Regions from separate parts of the Homo sapiens genome. Here all the other regions are linked to region 3. Evidence: promoter capture Hi-C in 16 types of primary human blood cells and fetal thymus (Javierre and others, 2016). All regions are on one chromosome and are shown on one strand. Each heading gives the region's core, a stretch centred on a gene start or on the middle of the fragment in contact. The rest is flanking DNA. Distances are from core to core; before and after follow the strand shown. Region 1 holds the start of BCL7A (BAF chromatin remodeling complex subunit BCL7A). Region 2 overlaps CFAP251 (cilia and flagella associated protein 251). Region 3 holds the start of B3GNT4 (UDP-GlcNAc:betaGal beta-1,3-N-acetylglucosaminyltransferase 4).

Region 1 (3,902 bases), core at 1,281-3,780, 180 kb after region 3:
CAACACTGAGCAACAGCTCCTCCTGCGCCCAGGGCGCGGTGCTCTCGGAGGCATGACCTCAATCGTCCTCAATAACCCGAGGGGACCTGGAAGCCAAGCACAAAACCCCGGGTCACCATGGTTAGAGAAGTGACAATGATATGCCCAAGGTCGCGGCAACGAAGTGAACTGGAAGCTGGACCATGAGATCCCAAAGCCTGAGGTCTTCAGAGGACACGATGTGTTGTTTCCCCAAACCCAGGGAGGCGCAGAGGTACAGCCCCTCAAGCTCCAACTACAGGCCTGGTCCCCGCGGGGTCAGCGGGCTGGAAGGCCTCCAGGCCGGCCGCCCCGGGGCCCGCGGGGTGGGAAGCCCCATCTCTCCATCTGCCCTCCCTGCAGAGCAGCTGGCCGCTCTGCGGGAGCAGCTGTCAGGGTGCAGGAGCCTCTGTCCAGCCGGGAACCTGGAGTAGGAGGCCCCACCACGCCTCCTCGAGCAGAGAAAGGCGGCTTGCCGGCTGTTTCCCAACCTCCAGGCCGGCGACAGAAGGGACCCAGGCACAGACACCAGTTCTTTCTTTGCACAGGGGCTGAGGCAAGGAGGGGAGCAACTCCGGGCTTCCCGCGGGGAATCCCACAGTAGAGGGGGCTGCGGGTTGTTTTCCAGCGTGTGTGTGTTGGCCTGCAGCTGTTTCTGCCATTTTTAAATGGCTCCAGTCGGGCACCGGGCACCCTGTGTACCAGGGGAGCTCCCGAGACACCGACGACTTGGATCTCAACTTTGGAAAGCCTCCCCTTCTCACGGTTCTGAAAATTCTTTGTCCCACTGGAGCCAAACCCAGCCCACGGCCGGGCATCCGGCCATCGCAGCCAGCCCTTTCCATAGGAGGCCGGGGAGCACGTGGACTTTATTGATTTTCCTCTTGCCTTTTTTGTTGGGTTTGACTCAGAAAGGACAGCTAACTTGTGACACCGCCACACCGGAGGCTCGCCCCCAGTGGCTTTTAGAGACCGAGGCGCTACTCGAGAAACGACACCCCCAAACGTAAACATCCCCTGCCACAGGGCCTGCCCAGCTTCCAGGCTCGAAATAAAGGGTCGAGACGAGCCCGCGGGCGCTGACACTCAGAGCCAGCGTTGCGGCGGCTCCTCTCCCTCCGGGACCCCAGTGAAGGCGTGGGAAAAAAATAATAAAGTTGAAATCAGGCAGCGGGGAGTTTTCAACAACTCTGACCCAACCTGGCGATCTGCTTGCGCCTCGGGCCTGGCCCAGGGGCCGATTCCGAGCAGACCCCGACGAGGCCGCGGAAAGGTTCGATCCCCTTAATGTCGACCGGGCCACGCCGGGCGGACGCTAATGTGATCCCGAAAACCACGCGCGGCCGCCACCAAGTCCCCCTCTCCCCGGTGCAGAGAACAAAAACAACAGCTCCCTCCGCAAAACAAACACGAGCTCCCGGTGTGGAGAGGCAGCCGCGGCCCAGGACGAACGGCTTCTGGCCAAAAACATCGGCTGGCCCGAGCCCCCCGCCCGGGGCGCCGCGCAGAGCGGGGTGGGACGTGGGCGCCCCGCGCCCCTGGCCGCTGGCTCCCAGCGCTCGCCCCCATCTTTCCTGGTCGCCGAGAGCCCTCGCTCCAGGCAGCCCAAAGCGCTAAATTTAAACGGCTCGCGCTCTGCAAACTCCGCAGACTCGAGGGCGCCGGGCCCGGGAGGCGGGAGCGGGCGGCCGGGCGGGCCGGGGCTGGCGGAGGGCGGCGGGGCGCGGGCCGGGGTGCGCGGGGAGGAGACGGCGGCGGCGGCCCGCTCGGAGCCTGCACAATGGAGCTCGCGCTCTCCCCGCCGCCGCCGGCATCGCGGCCCCGGCGCGCGGGAAGCCGCTTTCATGTGACTTGCACAAAACGAAATGGCTTCTGGGGCCGGCCCCGAGCCCCCCTCCCGGGAGCCGAGCGCCGCGGCGGGGGCCGCCCCGCCGCTCCAACCGCCTGGCCCCGGCGCCCGCCGCCTCCGGGCCGCCGCGCCAGGTGGGCTACAGGCGCGAGCGCACCTGGGCAGCGGCCGCGGCCCCAGCCTGGCGCAGGTGACCCGGCTCGCGCGCCGCCCGCCCGTCCGCCCGCCCTCGCCAAGTCCCGGGGCCCGCGGCGGGGCTGGGCCGGGGCAGGCGGCCGGGGCGCTGCGCCCCGCGGCTCTCTGGAGCCGCGCTCGGGCTCGGGGCGGCCGGGGAGGCGGCTGGCGGCGGGCGCCTCCGCTTACCATTTGCGCACTTTCTCGATCGCCGCCATGACCCTCTTGATATCATCTTTGGCCCGGCTCCTCGTCTCGGCTCGAACCGACCTGCCCGACATGGTTCCGGCGGGGAGACGGAGGCTGGGGAGCGCGCCCGCCGGGTCCTGCTCGCGCTCCGCGGCGGCCACACTCGCGCCCGCCCGCCGCTCACTCACTCGCGCACAGACACTCGCACTCTCACACGCACACACTCACACACACACACACACACACACACACATACACACACACACAAAGCCCGGGGCCGCCGCGCGCCTGGCCCAGTGCGCAAGCGCCGGGCGGCAGCTGCACAGAGCAGGGGGAGCCGCGCCGCCGCCGCCGCCGGCAGTGCGGCCTCCGGGCGCCGCGGCCACCGGGCAGCGCCCCCGGGCCTCCTGCGCCCCCAGAGGGGACGCCCCGGACGCCCTCCTGGGGAGGTGGCGAAGGGCGCACGGCGACCCCCGGCTCTGGGCGCGCGGTGGGGGCGGGCGTGCGGACACGCGCGCTGACCCTTCCTCGGAGGCTGCAGGTGCCGAGGGGTCCATGGGAGACAGCCGGTCTGCGGGGCGCGGGGGGGTCGCGTTCCCCGGGAGCCAGCCCAGCTGCCCCTGCCCAGCCCCCAGAGCGCGGCGGCGGGTGCAGTCGTGCAAGTTTCTTGCGGGTCTCTTGACTTCTCCGAGTTGAAGGCACCGGTTCGGGACGCGAGGTGCTCTTGGAAAGAGTTGGGCATCGCGCATCTCTGCTGGCCCGCGGCCCTGTTCAAATGCGAGCTAGGACGTCGCCTGCCCCAGGCTTTGTCCTTTTGGAAAACTAGGGTTGTAGGAAGGTGCCTGGTGCCAGGCAGACCACCAGAGACTCTCGACCTTGAGTACTAAAGAGTTTTCTGCTCAGCAAAAGCTCAATGATGATCAGCATCGTAACAGGGACTCTTCCTCCCGCCCCCAGAAGTTCTCTTGTCATAAACAAGGCGAGGGGGTCTTCGCTGAGCTTCACCAGAGGACCACGATTTCACCTTAAGCCATTCCTGACTTCAGTACCAGACTGAGACCAGGCGCTGCTACTGCCCAAATGACCCCTGGTCCCATCTACAAGGAGCACTTTTGAGGCCTCAGAACAGAGCCCCGGGGAGAAATCTGCGATGATCAGGGTAACCTGGGTGCCGCATCTTGCTGTTCAGCTGCAGCGGAACCGGCCGGACCAGAGCTAATGCGCGCCCAGAATGAAGAGGGAGACCGAGAGTGGCCCAAATGTCAGCGCCCCGGGCCTGGAGATGACAGCCCGACAGCAGCCATTTCACAGCTGGGGAAACTGAGTCCTGGGAAAGTTTAAGGTTGCAGCCTTAAGTTGTTACTCATTCTAGACGTTTCCCCTGAGGGTTTGGTCTTTGGGGAACACGCTACTGTGGAAATGGAGAGACCGCAGGCCTTTTCCTAGGCATTTGTTTTTACTATTCTGAAACGCAGTCTCCTGACGTGAAAAATGAAGAAAAGAACAAATACTGGCCGGGCGCGGTGGCTCATGCCTGTAATACCAGCACTTTGGGAGGCCGAGGCGGGTGGATCACTTGAGGTTAAGAGTTCGATACCAGCCTGGCCAACATGGTGGGTGAAACCCCGTCTCTACTAAAAATACAAAAATTAGCCGGGCGCGGTGGTGGGCT
Region 2 (3,969 bases), core at 826-3,325, 200 kb after region 3:
GAGGCCATGGACCATCATTTCCCTGGACCACATGTGTCGCGAGGGAGGCCTGCTGCTGGCTGAGGACCCCTCTGCCCCCTGAGACCACGCCCCCTCCATATCCCGTGCAAACCCCATCCAGGCAGCATCACCAGAGACCCAGAGATCCAGCCACCATGTACATCCAGCTGCCAGGGTTTTTCTCGCCTCCGCCCACTTTTCTATTTCAGAAACAGTGGAATGTCCAACTTTGTGAATTCCATTGCTCACCAGAAACTTGCTTTAATGTCTAAATGTTCTAAAGATGAGAGGGGGGAGGGAAATGCATAAAAAGCAGTGCCTCATGGAAAACACACACATGTGCATGCACACACACCCAAAGTCCTTTGTGCTTTAAACATTCCTGGTAACTTCACTGACCATCCTGGCCGGAATCTTCTGAAATGGTTAAGCCAAGAATTTCAGTCGCGAATATTTCTGCAGTGATTTCGTCTGGAAGTTCTTCTTCAAGGCAAATTTCTGAACCTAGCCAAAACAAGAAAAGAACACCAAATGCCTTCATGATGATTATGTTTCTTTCTTTTTTGGGTGAGGGGAGGGGTTTGAGACAGGGCCTTGCTCTGTTGCCCAGGCTGGAGTGCAGTGACACGATCATAGCTCACTGCAGCCTTGAACTCCTGGGGTCAAGTGATCCTCCCACCTCAGCCTCCCAAGTAGCTGGGACTACAGGCACACGCCACCACGCCCAGCTTATTTTAAAATTTTTTTGTAGAGATGGGGTCTCGCTATGTTACCCAGGCTGATCTCAAACTGCTGGCTTCAAGTGATCCTCCCACCTCAGACTCCCAAAGCGCTGGGATTACAGCTACCGCATCTGGCCTCAATGACTATGTTTCTAACTCAGGAGGATTTTCCAAAAACACAAGGAAATGCTACTAAACAAAAACAAGAGGGGCTTTGTGCTGTGATTTGGCTTTGATTCCTTGAAAAACTCTGGGTGGAAATTGCTTAAAAATCTCTCCTTTACGGAACAGAACGCTGTTAACCAAATCTCTGCAAACCTTACTGGAAAGCCTTAACCACATGGTATGATTGATTTTTCTGTTTCAAGATGCCTGGGAACACAGCAGAAATATATAACAATCAGGAAAGGTACATTCTGAGATCTGAAGCACATAAAGGAATGGGGTAGGGAGAGCTTGCAGGTTGGGAATGACCTGTTAGCTACTGGAGTCTGAAATTATCTGAGTTCAGGGACTTTGTTTAATTTGATGTGGGGAATGGACAATAAAAGGAGAGGGAAAAGGGGAATGGGTGAGGGGTCTTTGCACCCTCCTCAGTCTTGGTGATGGTGGTGGGATCTGACCATCCCCGGGCTTGTCAGCAGAGTTGCTCCTGTACCAGTGAGCCTAGAAGAGCCGTTTAGATTGGTTCCTCCTGAGCTGAAAGTCACGGCCCTAACTTCAGGTCCAGTGCACGAAAAGGTGAAAAATACTTAGGCTATAGCAGGAAGGGACAGGAGGATGATCTTTAAAAACCTGAAAGTTTTGGCAGCTTGTAGCTGGGCTTGTACTGCCCACCAAGTTGATGCTCTCTCCTTCTCCAAATCTTTCTCTCTCTCTCTCTCTTTTTTAATTGAGACAGGCTCTCACTCTGTTGCCCAGGCTGGAGTACAGTGGCACAATCCTCACTCACCGCAGCCGTGAACACCTGGGCCCAAGTCATCCTCCCACTTAAGCCTCCTGAGTAGCTGGGACTAAAAGCATACACCGCTATGCCCAGCTAATTGTTTTGTTTTGCTTTAATTAATTAATTAATTTAGAGACGGAGTTTTGCTCTTGTCACCCAGGCTAGAGTGCAATGGTGTGATCTCGGCTCACTGCAACCTCCACCTCCTGGATTCAAGCGATTCTCCTGCCCCAGCCTCCCAAGTAACTGGGATTACAGGTGTGTGCCACCATGCTTGGCTAATTTTCGTATTTTTAGTAGAGATGGGATTTCACCATGTTGGTCAGGCTGGTCTTGAACTCCTGACCTCATGTGATCCACCCTCCTCGGCCTCCCAAAGCATTGGGATTACAGGCGTGAGCCACTGCGCCCAGCCTGGTTTTTTTTTTGTAGAGATGGGATCTCGCTATGTTGCCCAGGCCAGTCTCAAATTCTGAACCTCAAGCGATTCTCCTGCCTTGGCCTCCCAAAGTGCTGGAATTACAGGCGTGAGCCATGGTGCCTGGCCCCCAAGTCTCTCTTTACATACCTATTCTCCTGAAACAGCTGTCAAACTGGATCCTCTACGGGTGGCCAATATTCACCCACCCAAGCCGGCAAGATGACAGGTCAGTGGAACAAAGGGAAAATAAGCCCAGAAGAAACAAAAGGACGGACAGAGCGCGGGAACAAAAGCCACCACTCACTGTTCTTTTCATAACTTATTCATGTGGGATTCCCAACAGACATGCTTTGTTATGTGCAGTCTTAGGGAGAGTGGCTTGCACCGATCAGGAGAAATAAATGTACTGAAGTCTACAACAAATCAGTGAGCCACAGCTACATGCCCAGACAAAGCCAGCTGGGGTACCTTTGACGGAGCAGGTTGCAGGCTCGGATTTCCATCCCTCGGGATTCAGGCCAAACAGTGAAGCAAAGCAATCCAACATCTCCTCCTCCGTCATATGCTCACCTGTGTGTCAAAGAGTGAGAAGGTGATTGTTTAACTCTTGAGGCTAAGCATACTGTCAGGGCTTAGCGTTATTATTCAGAGGTCTTAAAGAGAATTATCCCACTATTTTTTTTTCTTTTACTCAATTGAAAAAAAAATTTAGGCTGGGCGTGGTGGCTCATGCCTGTAATCCCAGCACTTGCAGAGGCCAAGGTGGGCGTATCACTTGAGGTCAGGAGTTCGAGACCAGCCTGGCCAACATGGTGAAACCCCATCTCTACTAAAAATACAAAAATTAGCCGGGTGTGGTGGCGCGGCCTGTAATCCCAGCTACTCGGGAGGCTGAGACAGGAGAATTGCTTGAACCCTGGAGTTGGAGGTTGCAGTGAACTGAGATCGTGCCACTGCAGTTCAGCCTGGGCAACAGAGCGAGACTCTGTCTCAAAAAAAAAAAAAAAAAAAGCAACAAAAACAATAAAAACTTTTCTGGTGGAGATGAAGTCTTGCTATGTTGGGCCAGGCTGGTCTCGAACTCCTGGGCTCAAGTGATCTTCCTGCCTCAGCCTCTGAAACTGCTGGGATTACAGGTGTGAGCCACTGCGCCCAGCCCCTTTTCTTTAGACACAAAAATGATCTAGAGTCCCATGGTACTGTCACATATGCTTCCTAATGGTGTTAAACAGGGTCCTCCAGGCAAGGAACATACATGGGGCTGGCATAGAGAAATAGGACAGCATGCTGCGGGGACCAGGCTCTGCTTCATTTCAAATTCCCTCCTCTCAGAACCACCCACTTGGACTAAGATGAAACTGTCATCCCAAGAGAGTTTACTTGACATCCTCATGTACAATAATGAGAAACATAGTAGGTAAAAATTAAAAAGTTTACTTTGGTGTGGTTGCATTTCACAAATGCAATCCAAATATTTGTTTTCTTTTCTTTTCTTTTTTTCTTTCTTTTTTTTTTTTTTGACAGTCTCGCTCTGTCACCCAGCCTGAACTGCAGTGGCGTGATCTTGGCTCACTGCAACCTCCACCTCCCGGGTTCAAGCAATTCTCCTGCCTCAGCCTCCCAAGTAGCTGGGATTACAGGCGTGTGCCACCATACCCGGCTAATTTTTGTATTTTTAGTAGAGATGGGGTTTCACTGTGTTGGCCAGGCTGGTCTTGAACTTCTGACCTCAAGCAATCCGCCCGCCTCGGCCTCCCAAAGTGCTGGGATTACAGGCATGAGCCACTGCGCCCGGCCCCAACCCAAATCTTATGACAGCCCAGGGAGATGGATCAGCTGGCATTTTTATTCCCATTTTACAAGTGAGGATGCCGAGTCTT
Region 3 (3,950 bases), core at 97-2,596:
AAGAGCTAAGGGTTTTGTTGGTTTTTTTTGAGACAGTGTCTCTGTCACCCAGACTCTAGTGCAGTGGCACAATTATAGCTCACTGCAGCCTGGAACTCCTGGGTTCAAGCGATCCTCCGGCCTCGGCCTCCCCAGTAGCTGGGACTACAGGCGTGCAGGGCCCGGCTAATTTATTTTTTGTAGAGATGTGGTATCTTTTGTTGCCTGGGCTGGTCTGGAACTCCTGGCCTCAAGCGATCCTCCCGCCTTGGCCTCCCAAAGCGTTGGGACTACAGGCGTGAGCCACCGGCCAGAGTTTTCTGAGCCCCCTGGAGATCTATGCGGGGGTGGGGGACAAGGGGGTCTGGCAGAGGCGGTGAAAGAATCTGACCTTTGGTAAAAGGCCACTCCTACCGCCCCTTCCCTGGTGGGCTGCGGAAGGCTGGGGAGGAAGCATGAACGGCAGCTGGAGACTGTCTCCGTGCTCAGGATGCCGGGCGGCGGCGGCGGCGGGGTCGAAGCGAGATGAGTCTCAGGTGTGCGAGCACCGCGGGCTGTGGACGAGAGGCCCGGGCGGGCGGCGGTGCCATTCACCGAGAAGGGCGCACAGCAGGTGGCTTGGTTCCGTCCCAGGAGGTTTCAGCCCAGGCTGCGCCGCGGCCCGGGTGGCCCCTGTCCCGCCGCGGGCGTCCCCAGGCGCTGGCCGCACGGCCTCGCCCCGCCGCCCTCCGAGCCGCGGAGACCCCAGAGCCCGGCTCTCCACCCGCCGCGGAGCGCACGACCCCGTCTGGTGGGGCGCGGGTCCTGAGGCTGCGCTCGGCCTTGGGCGGCAGCCGCCTCGGATCCCCACAGGACTCGGTGACCCAAAACGCCCTGGCGCGGGCAGGGGGCGAACTCTGGTTCATTCTTTCAACGCGACAGTCTCCGAAGGGCTGACGGCAGCAGAGACCCACTCTGCGGGGACCCCCGGGCCGGGGTTGGCAGCAGCGCTGCGCGTCGGGCGCGGGCGGCCCAGGCTGGCGGGGTCTACCGCGCCCGGCTCCAGCCTCTGTCCCCAGCCTGGAGAACCGAAGCCGAGCGGCCCGTGGGCCCCGAGCCGTGCCCGCCGAGGCCAGACTCGCGCCGCACCCGGGCGGGGCCGGCGTCCTCGCGGGGACCCTGGGGGACCGGGGAGCGGGCCGCGGGGTGCAAAGGCACGGCCGCCCTGGCGACGCCCCTCCCTGCACGGTGACCCAGCCTCCCTCACAGCAGCGGCGTCCCGGCCCCCAACCTACCTGAGCGTGACGCCGGGGTACGGGCGTGGAGCTCGTGCAGCGGAGCCAGGGCGGATGGCGCCCAGGTGCGCGGAGCTCTCGGGGCTCGGGAGTGGGCGGGGCTTCTGGAGGAGGTGGGAATTTGGGGCGGGGTTCTGGCGGGGGCGGGTTTGGGGCCTCCCCGGACCCAGCCGCGGGTCTCCGCAGCGCCGGAGGCTGGACGCACGCGTCCCGCGCCCGGTCCTGGGGTCCGCACGAGCCGGGTCGGGCAGAGGCTGCTCCTCCTCCCCAGGACGCCGGCGCCACACCCGCCCCCCGACGCGTGCGGCGGGACAGAAGCGGAGGCGGGAGTGCTGGGAACAGCCTTTACTGCCCACGCCCTACACGGCGAACATGCGCAGAGCCTCCTCCGCCGAGCGGCACTGGTTCAGCTGGATCTGCACCTCTACGGTCAGGGGCTCAGGGTGGTAATCGCCTTCGTAGATCGGAATCACGGCTTTCGGCTTTTCTGAGAAAATTTAAGTGCGAGCATGAGCCCCGGGAGACGGATGGGCTGGCGTTCTCGGCCGCCCTGACCCATCCCATATGCAAGCCCTGGACCCTGTCCCAGCGGGAGCACAGTTTTGGTCCTCGGGTGTTAACAGTAATAAGAAATAAAATTAAATTGTATTTAATTAGATCATTTAATAAATCGCAGCTGTTTGAGTTGCAAGACTGGCTGCTTTTTGCTTTGAGACAGTGTCGTGCTCCGTCGCCCAGGCTGGAGTGCGGTGGCATGATCCCGGCTCACTGCAACCTCCGCCTCCCAGGTTCAAGCGATTCTCCTGCGTCAGCCTCCAAGTAGCTGGGATTACAGGCGCCTGTCACCACGACCGGCTATTTTTTGTAGTTTTAGTAGAGACGGGGTTTCACCATGTTGGCCAGCCTGGTCTCGAACTCCTGACCTCAAGTGATCCGCCTGCCTAGGCCTCCCAACGTGCTAGGATCACAGGCGTACACTACCGAGCCCAGCTGCAGATATTTTCTTAAAAATGAAGTAATTATAGCACTTCAGGGGAAACAACTGAAAGCATTTCAATAAATGTATAACATTTGCCCTAAAAATGAGACAACATTGTATCTGCCACCATGAATTTACCAATTTTCCAATACGCAAAGACCTTTCTAATGATGTGGGTGGTGATAGTAAAGAACGTGATCTTTGGAAAATGTATAGTGACAGGTGTCAACTGTTGGAATATCTGCATAAGTCTGTTAACCTGTAGTTTACAAGTAACTCATGCATGTTACAAACTGCATGGTAAAATATCCGTTCAAAATGCAAACTAGATTAATGAATTTTAATCTGATTATGAAAAATTCAATATAGATTGTTTTCACATTGTAACAACCTTTAAGAAATTACCACTTGTCAAATTTGGTGTAATATTAAAGAAATTATATTATTTTAAGGTCTATTAAAATACTCCCTCTTTTCCAATTATGGGCCTGAGGTTGGATTTTCTTTGTGCACGTCAATTACAGCAACATATTGCAAGCAGTTGACTGCAGAAGTAGCTGTAAGAATCCAGCTGTCTTCAATTAAGCCAAACATTAAAGAGATTAAAAAAAAAAAAACCTTTTTAAGGCCATCTTAACCCACAGATAAGTATCACAAATCACATGTTCATATAGGCATGGGTTTTGAAGTCCAGCAGCATATGCCCTCCAACGTTTACTTCTTCAGGCTGGCGTGAAATGGCGCGATCTCAGCTCACTGCCACCTCTGCCTTCCAGGTTCAAGCGACTCTCCTGCCTCAGTCTCCTGAGTAGCTGGGATTACAGGCACCCACCACCGCACCTGGCTAATTTTTGTGTTTTCAGTAGAGACGGGGTTTCACCATGTTGGCTAGGCTGGTCTCGAACTCCTCACCTCAGGTGATCCGCACGCCAAAGTGCTGGGATTACAGGCGTGAGCCACCATGTTGGGCCTGTTTCCACTTTTCGGCTTCAGTATGATGGGTTGCTCTGCTATGATCGGGCCTCATGCTTTTTGCAGCCACCTCCCACGGCACTCCCTGTCTCCTTTCTCTCCCTCCCAGTTGGTTGTTCTTTCTGAACCTCAAACCTGAGACGCACCCATTTCAGATGCTTCTCCAGCTCCCCACAGGACAAGCCCAGGCCCCTCTTACAGCAAATAAGGGCCGATGGCCTGAAGCTGGAGGCAGACACCTCGGAACCAGATGAGCCCCAGGCAGCCCCAGCTCCAAGCTCTTGCCCCGCTATGGCTCTACCACAGGTGCCTTCCCCACCCTGGTCACCACCCACACAGGCCCTGTGGTCTGAGGGCTGCAGAGAAGAAATAATAACACTGGATCTAAGGGGGGATGTGGCCTCTCCCCAGGCCAGAAGCTACCATTCCCCACCCTTTGGTTCCTTTGGCCTCCCCCAGGGCTGGCCCTCAGCAGGTCCTCCTGACAATCCCTGCCTTTGGTCACCACCATCGGCACTCACCTTTTTTGGCAACTTTCTTAATCTTCTTTGAATCCTGAGAGAAAGAACCACAAAACGAGATGCTTACTGGAGAGGGGAGGTACTAGAGAAGGGGTGTCTCTGGGGCCCCACCTCCTCCAAGGCTCTGACAGGTCCAGGAAGGCGGGGGTCTCCTGGTGAGGGTGGCTGCCCCAGCCCATCCCCAAAGGGAAGGCTGCTGACTGGGCCAAAGTCCACGGAGGCGCC

What was found. The method cuts DNA at HindIII sites, captures the fragments that hold promoters and counts their contacts. A CHiCAGO score of 5 or more calls a contact.
Region 1: the fragment with the promoter of BCL7A here is called in contact with the fragment with the promoter of B3GNT4 in region 3 in 1 of 17 cell types (endothelial precursors); the score reaches 5.1 in endothelial precursors.
Region 2: a contact is called between a fragment that was not itself captured here and the fragment with the promoter of B3GNT4 in region 3, in 4 of 17 cell types (erythroblasts, megakaryocytes, M1 macrophages and 1 more). The highest score is 5.9, in erythroblasts.

Annotation. Positions count from the first base shown.
Region 1 is chr12:122,020,512-122,024,413 of GRCh38, reverse strand. It overlaps BCL7A (BAF chromatin remodeling complex subunit BCL7A), which reads right to left and starts at 2,530. Exons shown (of 6, transcript NM_001024808.3): 1 at 2,231-2,530. The coding sequence starts at 2,322. RefSeq lists silencers at 242-331, 1,812-1,971, 2,122-2,441, 2,572-2,651 and an enhancer at 1,162-1,977. The HindIII fragment of the contact is 6,381 bases long and covers 1-3,902 here.
Region 2 is chr12:122,000,187-122,004,155 of GRCh38, reverse strand. It overlaps CFAP251 (cilia and flagella associated protein 251), which reads right to left. Exons shown (of 22, transcript NM_144668.6): 21 at 2,558-2,659; 22 at 237-504. The coding sequence ends at 392. All of the region lies in intron 1 of LOC124903038 (a long non-coding RNA gene), which reads left to right. Among named protein-coding and RNA genes, the nearest start is that of BCL7A, 20 kb to the left of the region's middle. The HindIII fragment of the contact is 6,065 bases long and covers 1-3,969 here.
Region 3 is chr12:122,201,105-122,205,054 of GRCh38, reverse strand. It overlaps B3GNT4 (UDP-GlcNAc:betaGal beta-1,3-N-acetylglucosaminyltransferase 4), which reads right to left and starts at 1,346. Exons shown (of 3, transcript NM_030765.4): 1 at 1,254-1,346; 2 at 371-533. The coding sequence starts at 436. LRRC43 (leucine rich repeat containing 43) reads right to left here. Exons shown (of 12, transcript NM_001098519.2): 11 at 3,726-3,759; 12 at 1,584-1,740. The coding sequence ends at 1,613. RefSeq lists a silencer at 1,032-1,661. The HindIII fragment of the contact is 10,141 bases long and covers 1-3,950 here.